Regions from separate parts of the Homo sapiens genome. Here region 2 is linked to region 1. The links are contacts of gene promoters, found by promoter capture Hi-C in blood cells and fetal thymus (Javierre and others, 2016). All regions are on one chromosome and are shown on one strand. The core of a region is centred on a gene start or on the middle of the fragment in contact, and the rest is flanking DNA. Distances in the headings are between cores, read along the strand shown.

Region 1 (5,867 bases), core at 2,370-4,869:
TCTCAGGAAAAAAGAAAGAGGCCGGGCACGGTGGCTCACACCTGTAATCCAGCACTTTGCAAGGCTGAGGTGGGTGGATCACTTGAGGTTAGGAATTCAAGACCAGCCTGACCAACATGGTGAAACCCTGTCTCTACTAAAAACACAAAATTAGCCAGGTATGGTGGTGCATGCCTGTAATCCCAGCTACTTGGGAGGCCGAGGACGAAGAATCACTTAAACTTGGGAGGTGGAGGTTGCAGTGAGCCAAGATTGTGCTATTGCACTCCAGCCTGGGCAACAAGAGCAAAACTCCGTTGAGACAGAGGGAGAGAGAGAGAGAGAGAAAGAGAGAGAGAGAAAAGTAGTCATTTTTTAAAAGTCAGATCATGCCCTCATCTGCGCAAAACTCTCCAATGCTTTCCCAACCCAATTAAAAATGTTAGTCCTTTCAGTCACCTACATGTTCTCCTACCATTACTTCCTTTCTCTGTGACCTCATGTTATTCTCCTCTTTGTACTCATTGTGCTCCAGCCACACTAGCCTTCTTGCTATTTCTCAAATGCGCACTCAGGCTTCTGCCCAAGGCCTTTGCACTAATTCTCTTCATTAGAATGTTATTTGCCCAGGCATCTACATGGTTTATTCCCTCCCCTACTTCATATCTCAATTGTCCCCTTCTGGATTATGTCTTTTCTAACAACCTTATTTAAAAGTGAACCTTGCCCCTCACATCCTGGCACTCCCCATTCCCCTTCCCAGTTGTTTTATTCTCCACTGCATTTGTCTTCATTTCATTTACTAAGTGTTTTACATATTTATTTATTATCTCTCCTCAGTAGAATGCAAGCTCTATGACAGTAGGAATTTTTATATATTGTGGTCAATGCTGTATCTTCAATGTCCTGTTATATAAAAGGGACTCAACAGAGATTTGTTGAGTAAACGCGTGGGTGAAATGGAATATGAGAACCAATGACTGAAAAATGGACTGTATGGCTGATCTGGAGGGCAATATATGAAGTTAGTCTGAAAGAGTACCAGATGATGTCAGGCTTTATAAAGGAGTTTTGTCTTTAACAGTAGTAGGACACCACTGAATAGTTTTAACCAAGAGAAAATCTGATCAAATCTGCAGTTTCAAAAAATCATTCTGGCAGATATAATGGAGAACTAATGGAGGAGGGTCATTGTGAATAATTGCTACTGTAGTGGTCTTGAGAGATTATCGCAGTTTGAAGACAGGTGGAGAGAAAAATATATTTGAAGGATATTTTGAGAGATAAGGTTGGCAGAACTTCATAATAATTTGGCCATAGAAGTATGAAGGGCAAGAAGAAATAAAGAATAATGTTTAGCTTTCAAATTTTCACAAGTAGATGGATAGTAGTGTCCTTTGCTGAAATAAGGAACACTGAAAAAGAATTAGATTCATAAGAGATAACTATGCATTTGGTTTTAGGTATGTTGAGTTTGAGATGCTTTTGAGATATCCAAGAAGAAATATCCAAGAGATATTGTGAAAGCTGAGAGGTGAAGCTGAATGGAGCTATTCATTTGAGAGTCATAGGTGTTGGTGAAGCCATGGGTATACATGAGATCATATTTAACTACGGCATAAAAAGGCACCCAGCCTTAAGAAACTACCCGACCCTTTATGGGCTGGATAGAGAATGAAGATCCCAAAAAGGAGATGAAAACGGAATGGTTTTTGTTTTGCTTTTTCAATCACACTCATAAGTTATTCCCTTTTTAAAATTCAGATTCAAACTAGAAGTGTCAGAATGTAACAAGGCTTTTGAAATTAGACCAATTCATCAGAACTATGCATCTATTCAAAAATAGCTCACTTACAGAAACGATGTAAAGAATTCACAATACCTGTCTCTTTGTAGCTTCTAAGTGCATCAATACACAAAAAGCACCCTTCCCGTCCCACCCCACACCGCCAAGTATGCATGATTTGGCTTACTGACGTTTCCTGAAAGTACCCTATCTCTCACTCTGGGCCTTAGCATATGCTGTTCTTTTGGTCTTCATTTCCCCTGGGATGAAGATTTCCCTGACTTTCCAAGATTGGGCTAAGTCATCTCCTTCTAGACATCCCAGTGATATCATGTATTATTGTAACCGTATGTCTAACAACTAGTTCCTCTAACTAGTAAGACTGTCTTTTTCATTGTTGTATACTCAGTGCCTAGCAAGACGAAATTTTTAGAATTTAGTGCAATGCAATTCTGCAATGTAAAGAATTAAAATCTACACCGATTATCAGTCCACTGATGGCCGTTCAAACCTCGACTTTTCTCAAATAATAACTTTTTAAAAGCAAACTAATTTTAAGCAAATGACTGAATCTTTTGAAAAAGTCGACTAAGTTTTGGAGACTTTTACGGTTTTGCTTTCTTTTTCCTGCTGTATCCTTAAAGCCTGCAAGAATTCCTATCTAGGAATACTGGGGATTCTTTTACGAGATGGATTTGACAACTTGCTTTCAAAGCCCTGCCTAGGATTTCATTTGACTGAGCAAATAAAGCCCAGAACATCCCTAAGCAAAGGCAAACAAAGGTGCAAATGCGCGGAGATCCCAAATCCACCCCGCGTGTGTCCACAAAAAAGGGCGGAATCAGAGGCAGCAGCGCGAAGCTCCAGTTTCCACAGCATCCTTCCTTCTTGGCCTTACTTAGGCCGCTCCCTGCGACCCTTGGGATCAGGATCCCAAATCCTTGCCTCACCCACCACACCCCGCGCTTGGGCAGCTGGACTAGTCCTTCCCACGCAAGTCACTGGAAAAAGTCCTTGGACTAAGGGAGGCCACCCTAGATGGCTTTGTCTCCAAAATCCCAGAGGAAATGGAGGAAGGAAAAACCCTGTCAAGGAAAGGTGACAACCCAGCTTACAGTGCTTACCAAGCAGACGCTCTCAGTCAGCCCCTGCCACCGCTAACCGTTGGTTCGCGGGCACCCACAGGCAACGTCGCGGTGGCCCCTGGGGGTTGTAGTTTCTGTCGCAAACAAAACGCGCCGGCAGCATCGAAACTACATTCCCCACAAGTCAACGCGAAGACGTCCTACCGACTTAAATCTGGGGTTTGGAGTAATGAAGAGGCCGTCACTACTTTTAGGGTGATCTTAAATGTAGACTCAATTTCTTCCAGGAGTCCCTTCGCGCCCTCTTTCTTTGTCGTGCTTGTTTTATGTGTGACGAAGTCTCAGTGTACTTCTACGTCTTACTTTTTCCTTCCCCTTCTCCAGGACAGAGTCCAAACGTCCGGGAACGGAAACCGCCTCAGGGCGCAAGCTTAGCGCCTCCGGGGGCGCTTGGCCCAGTTCGCAGTCACGCATGCGTAGCAGCCGGCAGTGGCTGGCAGCCGCGCGCGGCGCACTTGGGGTCCGGAGGGTAGCCTGCCAGAGGGCGGGGCTTTTTCCTAAGGCTTTGCCTCGGCGGGTCGCGTCTGCCTGGGCGGGGAAGAAGGCGCTGGGGCCGGGGCGGCTCCCGGTTTGTGCCGGGCGGAGAAAGGGGAGGGGCTGGGGGTGAGGACCCCGTCTCCACTCCCTGCTCCCGCCCTCTGGGCTGATCCCCACCGATGGGGCTGGGCGAAGGGCGGGCTTTGCGCCTCGGGCCCCGCCGCCCCGCCAGCTCCGCGGCCCAGCCTGGCGCTCGAGGATTGCCAGGGCCGCCCTGTGCCCTCTGGCTCGGCGGTGGTGGGCGAGGGCTCAGGGATCGGAGAAGTAGCGTCTTCCCGGGGGTGCCGAATTGGCGGGGCTGGGGGACGCTTTTTTTCACCGCCGCCCGCCGAGACTACGGCTGCCCGAGACTGCCGCCCTCCGACAGCGCCCAAGCCTCCGGCCGCTGCGGCCAGTGGGCCAGGGTTCGGCGAGCCTTCCCTGCCGGCGCCGGCCGGCTGCTGAGGCGCTGGGAGGAGCTGCGGAGGGCGGGGACTGGTGTCGGAGAAGGGGCGGGGTGGGAACGCCGGAGAGAACCCGGTGGCTGCACAGACAAAAAAGCCCCGAATGGCTGGAGGGCGTTCAGCTGTTAACAGCCTTTTGGGGCAGAGCACGGATTTGACAGCTCCACAACGTGAGGATATCCACTGACCCCGCGAGACGGAGGAGAACGCTTCCCCGAAATTCTCTGCCCACCAAAGCCAGCGCTGCAAGGTTGCAACTTTCAAACTTTGTTTTTCCAGAAAGAAGACTGCCCTTTCGTGTACAAGGAGAGGGTGAGAGGGTGACCTAGCTTGTAGATCGGCTGAAGGCACCAGTGGTTCCAAATGTCACCCAGATGTGTGTTTTCATGACGATTTGATTTCTCTGATTTTATTTTTACATTTTTCATTTTAAAAATACAAAGCAATTTTTTTGGGGCATGCTGAAAGGTAACTGAAGACCGCAAAGGAAAAACTATTGTCATGGCTGAAGGAGAGAATGAAGTGAGATGGGATGGACTCTGCAGCAGAGATTCAACTACTAGGGAGACAGCATTGGAAAACATTAGGCAAACCATTTTGAGGAAAACCGAGTATCTTCGTTCGGTGAAAGAAACACCTCATCGTCCATCAGACGGGCTTTCAAATACCGAGTCTTCGGATGGGTTGAATAAGCTACTTGCTCATCTGCTTATGCTTTCTAAGAGGTGTCCCTTCAAAGATGTGAGAGAGAAAAGTGAGTTTATTCTGAAGAGCATCCAGGTAAGGAAGAGCATTTTAAATACAACTATGTCTCTACTACAGTTAAATTTTACTTGCCGTTATTCACGTTGTGTTTGTTTCTATTAGGTTGTTATGTAAACTTTTATTATGAGTTTACATCTTTAGAGTGTTCTGTAAGTAAACAAGTAGTGTTTTTCTAGAGTTTTAGGCAGAAACTGCTTTGCTCCTGGAAGAATATATGAAAACTACAGTTAATTCCAAGTAAATACTTGTTTTTCCTTATATTTCTTTTTACATGTTGTTGGAAAATGTAGCCAGTGTTTTTTTTTCACATTGTCACAGTGTTCTGAGTGTAAAGGCTCACATTTAAAAGCCTCTAAAATGATAAAGGATATTAAATGTTTCCTAGTCAGCCTGTTCAAGATAATTGGTGGAACAATTTTCTCTTATTTTTAAAAACAAAACAAACCAGGATGTGTTCTCTAAATGCAACCTCTCTTTTTTCAAGAAGAGAATTATATAAAATAATAAAAACCTATCTTAAAAGAAGCTAATATCTTCATGTTGAAAAGGTGGACCCAGGTGGGGTATTTGATAGAAACACTTTTATGGCAAATTGCTCAACTAGCTTTCTCTGTGTTTGCCTGAATTGTTTCTTTTTCACATGTGTAGCTATTTAAGATACGAGTGCAGCAGGTTAAAAATATTATAGTTTTTCCTCCATTTCGTTCATAATTTATCCTGTTTTATTACAAGGTGTCTTAGAATACTTTTTTTTAAGTTTTTAGATATTGACAATATTCAGCAACACCTTATATATGCTTGTCAATCTTTACATTTCTCAATCCACGTGTGTTGTCCAAAGTCCTGTATGAGAGATTTTTAAAATTTAAAATGTACTTGGGTAACTATGTAAGTTAAAAGTGACAGTTTTTATATACTGGCTTGAATTTAGTTTAAAGCAACAGAAAAATAATATCCACAAAATGAAGACTCTATTTAAGATCTTGGGATATTTCTTCTCACTAACACTTTGGAAACAATTGTTACAATTCAGAGTTACCCGAGAGGAATTAATATACTAGGTAACTGAAGTTTACCCTTTGAAACACAAAAAGTTATTTCTCTATCTTCTAGACTGTAGTGACTGTAACAACCATTTTTGTCCATAATGGGGTCATCATTATGCATATCAACTATTGTTGTGCAGCAAAGGGTGGAGGACTGACTATATGA
Region 2 (5,332 bases), core at 262-2,761, 2.8 Mb after region 1:
TTTGGTTAATCACATATTTATCCATCTATGCGCCCCTAAATCCATCTTATTTTTTAGATACATTTTAAAGGAAATTTTATATACTTTTGTCTGACACTGGGAAGGCAATGCACCTTAATCCCACAAGCTTTCTTACAGAGGCTAATAGCTGTTTACTGGGGACACTGTAGTGAGGATTTCTGCATTGAGTAGGTGAAGAGGACCATAACTGTGGCTTTCAAACTTTTCTGACTGCTACCCTTACTAAGAAATGTATTTCACATTCCTATCCAGTGTACACCACATACATACTGAAGTAAAAATTTTGGGACACAATATTTACCCTTTACATGTGTGAAGCATGCTGATATTTTCTATTTTATTTCATTTAAAAAGATGCTGGGCATGCTTCCCTAACTTGATTTAGATACCCACTAATGTACTGTAATTTACCATTTGAAAATCATTGTACTTAGTCCAACTCCAAGAAGATTTTTCTTTTTAAAAGAATCCTGTGGCTACTACTAGAATTTTCCTTATGTTCCCAATTATCAAGAACCTGTTTTGAGTCTCAGCACAGTACTTACTTAACATGCATGGCGTTAAGGCACGTGTAATTAAGAGAAAAACCTTAAATGCCTGCTAAGACTTCTGGATAGAGCCAATTCAAAGATTCTTTATTAGTAAGTTTACCAATTATTACTATTTTTTTTTTGAGACGGAGTCTCGCTCTTTCGCCCAGGCGGGACTGCGGTGGCCCTATCTTGGCTCACTGCAAGCTCCACCTCCCGGGTTCACGCCATTCTCCTGCCTCAGACTCTCCAGTAGCTGGGACTACAGAAGCCCGCCACCGCGCCCGGCTAATTTTTTTTGTATTTTTAGTAGAGACGGGGTTTCACCGTGTTAGCCATGATGGTCTCGATCTCCTGACCTCGTGATCCGCCCGCCTCGGCCTCCCAAGGTGCTGGGATTACAGGCGTGAGCCACCGCGCCCGGCCCCAATTATTTTTACAAAGAGTAAGATAAAGATATGTACTCTTGGATGGGTGGGAGGGTTCAGTGCTCATATAGTCTTCTGTTAAATTAGGTTATTAATGCCTGCGGTGGTTCCAACAAAGTAGAGAAGAAGATCAAATAAGAAAATGGATGGGAAAGTACTTTGAAAACTAATGTTTTATTAATACTGTTGTGTGATGCCAGGAAGAAAGGGATGTTGCGATCAAGCTCTAGGGAGGCAGTGTTTCAGTATTTTAAAAACTGTTTTTGTGGAACTGTTAAGTTAACCTCCCCAAGCCCCAATAACTACGCTTTGACGCAAGATTCTCAGAAGAGGGTAGAAGCTATGAACTTGGAGAGGTTTGGTCGCGAGTTCAAGCGTACTGCCCCGTTGGCGCATGCTCAAGAGCGACTCGGGCCTCCTTGCTGGGTTAGGCAGAACACGGAGGGCGGAGTTCGGACCACGTGGGGTCTCGTGACGTCATCTCCGGGCGCCGAGGGTGACTGGACTTGTGGTGCGCTGCCAGGGCTCCGCAGCGTTGCCGGTTGTATTCGCTGGATACCAGAGGGCGGAAGTGCAGCAGGGTTCAGCTCCGACCTCCGCGCCGGTGCTTTTTGCGGCTGCGCGGGCTTCCTGGAGTCCTGCTACCGCGTCCCCGCAGGACAGTGTGTCAGGCGGGCAGCTTGCCCCGCCGCCCCACCGGAGCGCGGAATCTGGGCGTCCCCACCAGTGCGGGGAGCCGGAAGGAGGAGCCATAGCTTGGAGTAGGGTACGTGTGTGTGTCCACCTTGTGTGAGGAAATTCCTAGAGGAGGAGGGCTGGGGAGGGGCCAGGTAGGTGTGGTAGGAAGGAGGGGTGAGTAGTTGCCTGGAGGAGCGCCCGCCCGGCCGCGATGGCGGGTGAAGGTGGTTCCTCCGGGCAAGGTGGAGTTGGCGAGACGCCGGCCCGGAGCCCTGGGGCCGGTTGGCGGGTGTGGCCTGCGGGGTCCCTCTTGGGGTACATGTCTGTTGCTTACTAAGGTAGGAAAGCGAGAGTCTAGTCGCAGGCTCTAGAGTTCAGTTCAGGACCTGAATTGTTTGTGGAACACAGTTATTTAAACCTTTATTGCACAGTGCAGTGTGAGTCTGTCCAAACTCGGTGGGTATGTCCTCCAAGCAATTTATCTATTTACGATATTCCCTGTCTCAATAACAATATTTAGTGCTACCAAAGACATTTTCTGTTGGCAAGACACTTTTACATACTTCATTTGTACTTTGGATTATTTTAAAATTATCCTGAACTTGAGGAACCTAGGAAACTATTGGTTCTAGATTTTTCTGAGGGGTGAGGAGGTACAGCCTGTCTTGAGCAATCAGAACCCGGAGACTTACCAGACAGTAGCTGAACTTCCAAAGCCTTCCAGAATTGGCTTGTTAAATTTCTGAGACCTTGAAACTGGATACTTGGCTCTGAACTGAACTATTTGTGATTTCCATAGAGGGAGTTTCTGGTTGAATTTTGAATTTGAAAATAACGATGTTGTGCTCAGGGTAGTAATTGAGAGGTATTTTACACCAGATTTAAGCCTGTGCTTTTATCTTCAAAGATATGCTACTTAAAATTGGGGGAAAGTGTACAGAATGGAACTGTATGGATATGGATTTTTAGAATAGTGCACACACCTCAAGTGTGTATTTATTTCATTAATTTCCCCCAAACTGAGTACCTCCTATGTGTTAGGCACTGGACAAAACAGTAAACAAAATAGTAAACAAAAGAATAAAAATCCCTGCCATCATGAAGTTCCACTTTGGGGATGGGGTGAGAAGACATTGATACAAAAATTAAGGTACAGTCTTTCCTGTCCCTCGGCATCTGTGGGAGATTGGTTCCAGGACCTCCCTTGGATACCAAAGTCCTCAAATGCTCAAGTCCCTGATATAAAATGGTGTAGTGTTTGCAGATAACCTATGCACATCCTCCTATCTTTAGTTCAACTCTGCATTATTTATAATGCGCAATACAACTTAAATGCTGTATAAATAGTTGTTATGGTGTATTGTTTAGGGAATAATGACAAAAAAGAGTCTATACATGTTCAGTACTGACTTTTTTTTCCTTCCCCGAATATTTTTTCATCCATGATTGGTTGAATACAAGGACGAAGAACCCATGGGTAGGAAGGGCCAACTGTGTACGTCAAGTGGCGGAAAGTGCTAGAGAAAAAAACCAAAGCAGTGCAGGGGTATAGGGAATGCCAAGAGATGGGAGTGGTGGCCATAGAAAAGATGATATTAACTTGGAGGCCTACGGGTGATAAAGAAGGGTGCCACTTGGAAGGAGCTGCCACTGAAGCCCTGAAGCAGGCGCATACTAGCTAGTTTGACTGGAAAATAATGAACAAGAGGGAAAGAAGTAGTGGATACTTAGGTGGAAATGGGGCCAAGTCATTTAGGAGCATGTGGGAATTTATAAGAACCTTAATTTGTACTTTGAATGAGTTGGGTTTTGAGTAAGCAGTGAGTTGATCTAACTTGTGTTTTAAAAGATCTGATTGCTATGTTGACTGTATGCAGCAGGTGCAGAAATAAGAGTTGTTAGTAGGCCATTGACTGCATTTATCCAGGTTAAAGGTCGAGGTGACTTGAATCAGGGTAGTAATAGTGGCGGTAGTGCGAAATGACCAGATTCTAGACTTTTGAGAGCAGTCAGGTAGAAGAAGGGTCAAGGACGACTCCAAGGGTTACGGACTGAGCAACTAAAGAATATAACTTGGCCGGGCGTGATGGCTCATGCTTGTAATACCATCTTTGAGAGAATCCCCAGCCTGGGCGACATAACGAGACCCTGTCTCTACAAAAAAATAAAAAATTAGCTGGGCATAGTGGCATGAGCCTGTAGTCCTGGCTACTTGGGAAGCTGAGATGGGAGGGGAGGATCACTTGACCCCCTTGAGCTCAAGGTTACAGTGACCCATGATCCTTCACTGTAGTCCATCCTGGGTGACAGCAAGACCCTGTCTCTTTAAAAAAAAAAAAAAAAAAAAAAAAAAGGACTTTTCCACTTAGCGAAACGGAAAAGACCACAGAGTGATAATGATAGGAGAACTTTTTGTTGGGAGGCCAAGGCGGGCGGATCACGAGGTCAGGAGACCGAGACCATCCTGGCTAACACGGTGAAACCCCGTCTCTACTAAAAATACAAAAAAACAAACAAACAAAAAAAACAAACCCGAGCCTGGTGGCAAGCGCTTGTAGTCCCAGCCACTGGGAGGCTGAAGCAGGAGAATGGCATGAACCCGGGAGGCAGAGCTTGCAGAGAGCCGAGATTGCGCCACTGCACTCCAGCCTGGGCGACAGAGCGAGACCCCGTCTCAAAATAAAATAAAATAAATGATAGGAGAGAGGAGGAAGGAAGATCTGAAATGGTTTTCCGTTTTGCATATGTTAAATTTCTAAATGGAAATGTCATATGTGGTGGTATATGTGAAGCCAGCCAGTTCAAAAGAGAAGTCTGGACAGAAGATAAAACTGTGGGAGTGTAAATGTATAAGTGTTATTTAAAACCATGTGAGAGATCTTCAAGGGAGTGGTTCAAGGACTGAGTCCTGGGGCATTTCAACATTTACAGTTTGGAGAGATTTACAAAATTTCCTCCCTCCCAGGGTGGGACTGTTGAGTAAAATTCCTCTTGAGAATCACTGATTCACAGTACCTGGATAGAAGGAAATAGAAAGCAAGGTCATTAGCTGAGAGAGAGGAGGAGGAGGAGGAAGAAGTGAACATTTGAGGGAGGAGAAGGTATAGAATAGTGATGTAGGAAAGTGGGAGAATAAATGGACTAGGGAAGAGTAGGAAACTAGTGTTTATGAATTTAAAGGAAGACCAGCCAGCATAGATTATAATTTTTTTTCTGTTTACACGCTTAGTTTAGTAAGTATTTGATATTTCTAGGTAGTTGGGGGTTTTGTCAGTGAAAATTACTTCAGGTAGTAGGTTAGTTTTTCTTGGTATGTAGTGTGAAAGAAACTATTATGCATTATATTGTTGTCACACCGTGCCATTTTCTGAATGACTGATTGGTTAACAGATGTTGTTGGTGGGCACCTACTCTGTCCCAGGCTCTGAACTAGATGCAGAAAATAGAAGTCAATAATAGCCCCTGCCCTCAAGAAACTTACTTCTAGTAGATTGCGTCACAGGTTGGAGTTTCTTTATTTCCAAGACAGTTCCTTGAAATTGGATGGTGATTGGATGGTGTAGTGTATGTAGGAGAGGGAAAATCTTTCTAAAATAACAAAATATGCCGAATTTAAAGTGCGACTATACTGATTTGGAGAGGAGTTTAGGGAGAAAATTTCTTAAGTAGCTAGAT

The links. Contacts are between HindIII fragments. The CHiCAGO score rates a contact against its expected background, and 5 or more counts as called.
Region 2: a contact is called between the fragment with the promoter of ATG5 here and the fragment with the promoter of SESN1 in region 1, in 1 of 17 cell types (total CD4 T cells). The highest score is 6.7, in total CD4 T cells.

The regions. Positions count from the first base shown.
Region 1 is chr6:109,092,598-109,098,464 of GRCh38, reverse strand. It overlaps SESN1 (sestrin 1), which reads left to right and starts at 3,619. Exons shown (of 10, transcript NM_014454.3): 1 at 3,619-4,670. The coding sequence starts at 4,392. It overlaps CEP57L1 (centrosomal protein 57 like 1), which reads right to left and starts at 2,958. Exons shown (of 11, transcript NM_001271852.3): 1 at 2,890-2,958. RefSeq lists enhancers at 2,972-3,231, 4,102-4,251 and a silencer at 3,292-3,991. The HindIII fragment of the contact is 3,523 bases long and covers 3,283-5,867 here.
Region 2 is chr6:106,321,939-106,327,270 of GRCh38, reverse strand. It overlaps ATG5 (autophagy related 5), which reads left to right and starts at 1,511. Exons shown (of 8, transcript NM_004849.4): 1 at 1,511-1,745. RefSeq lists enhancers at 1,312-1,631, 1,652-1,701, 3,349-3,849, 3,850-4,350. The HindIII fragment of the contact is 6,577 bases long and covers 130-5,332 here.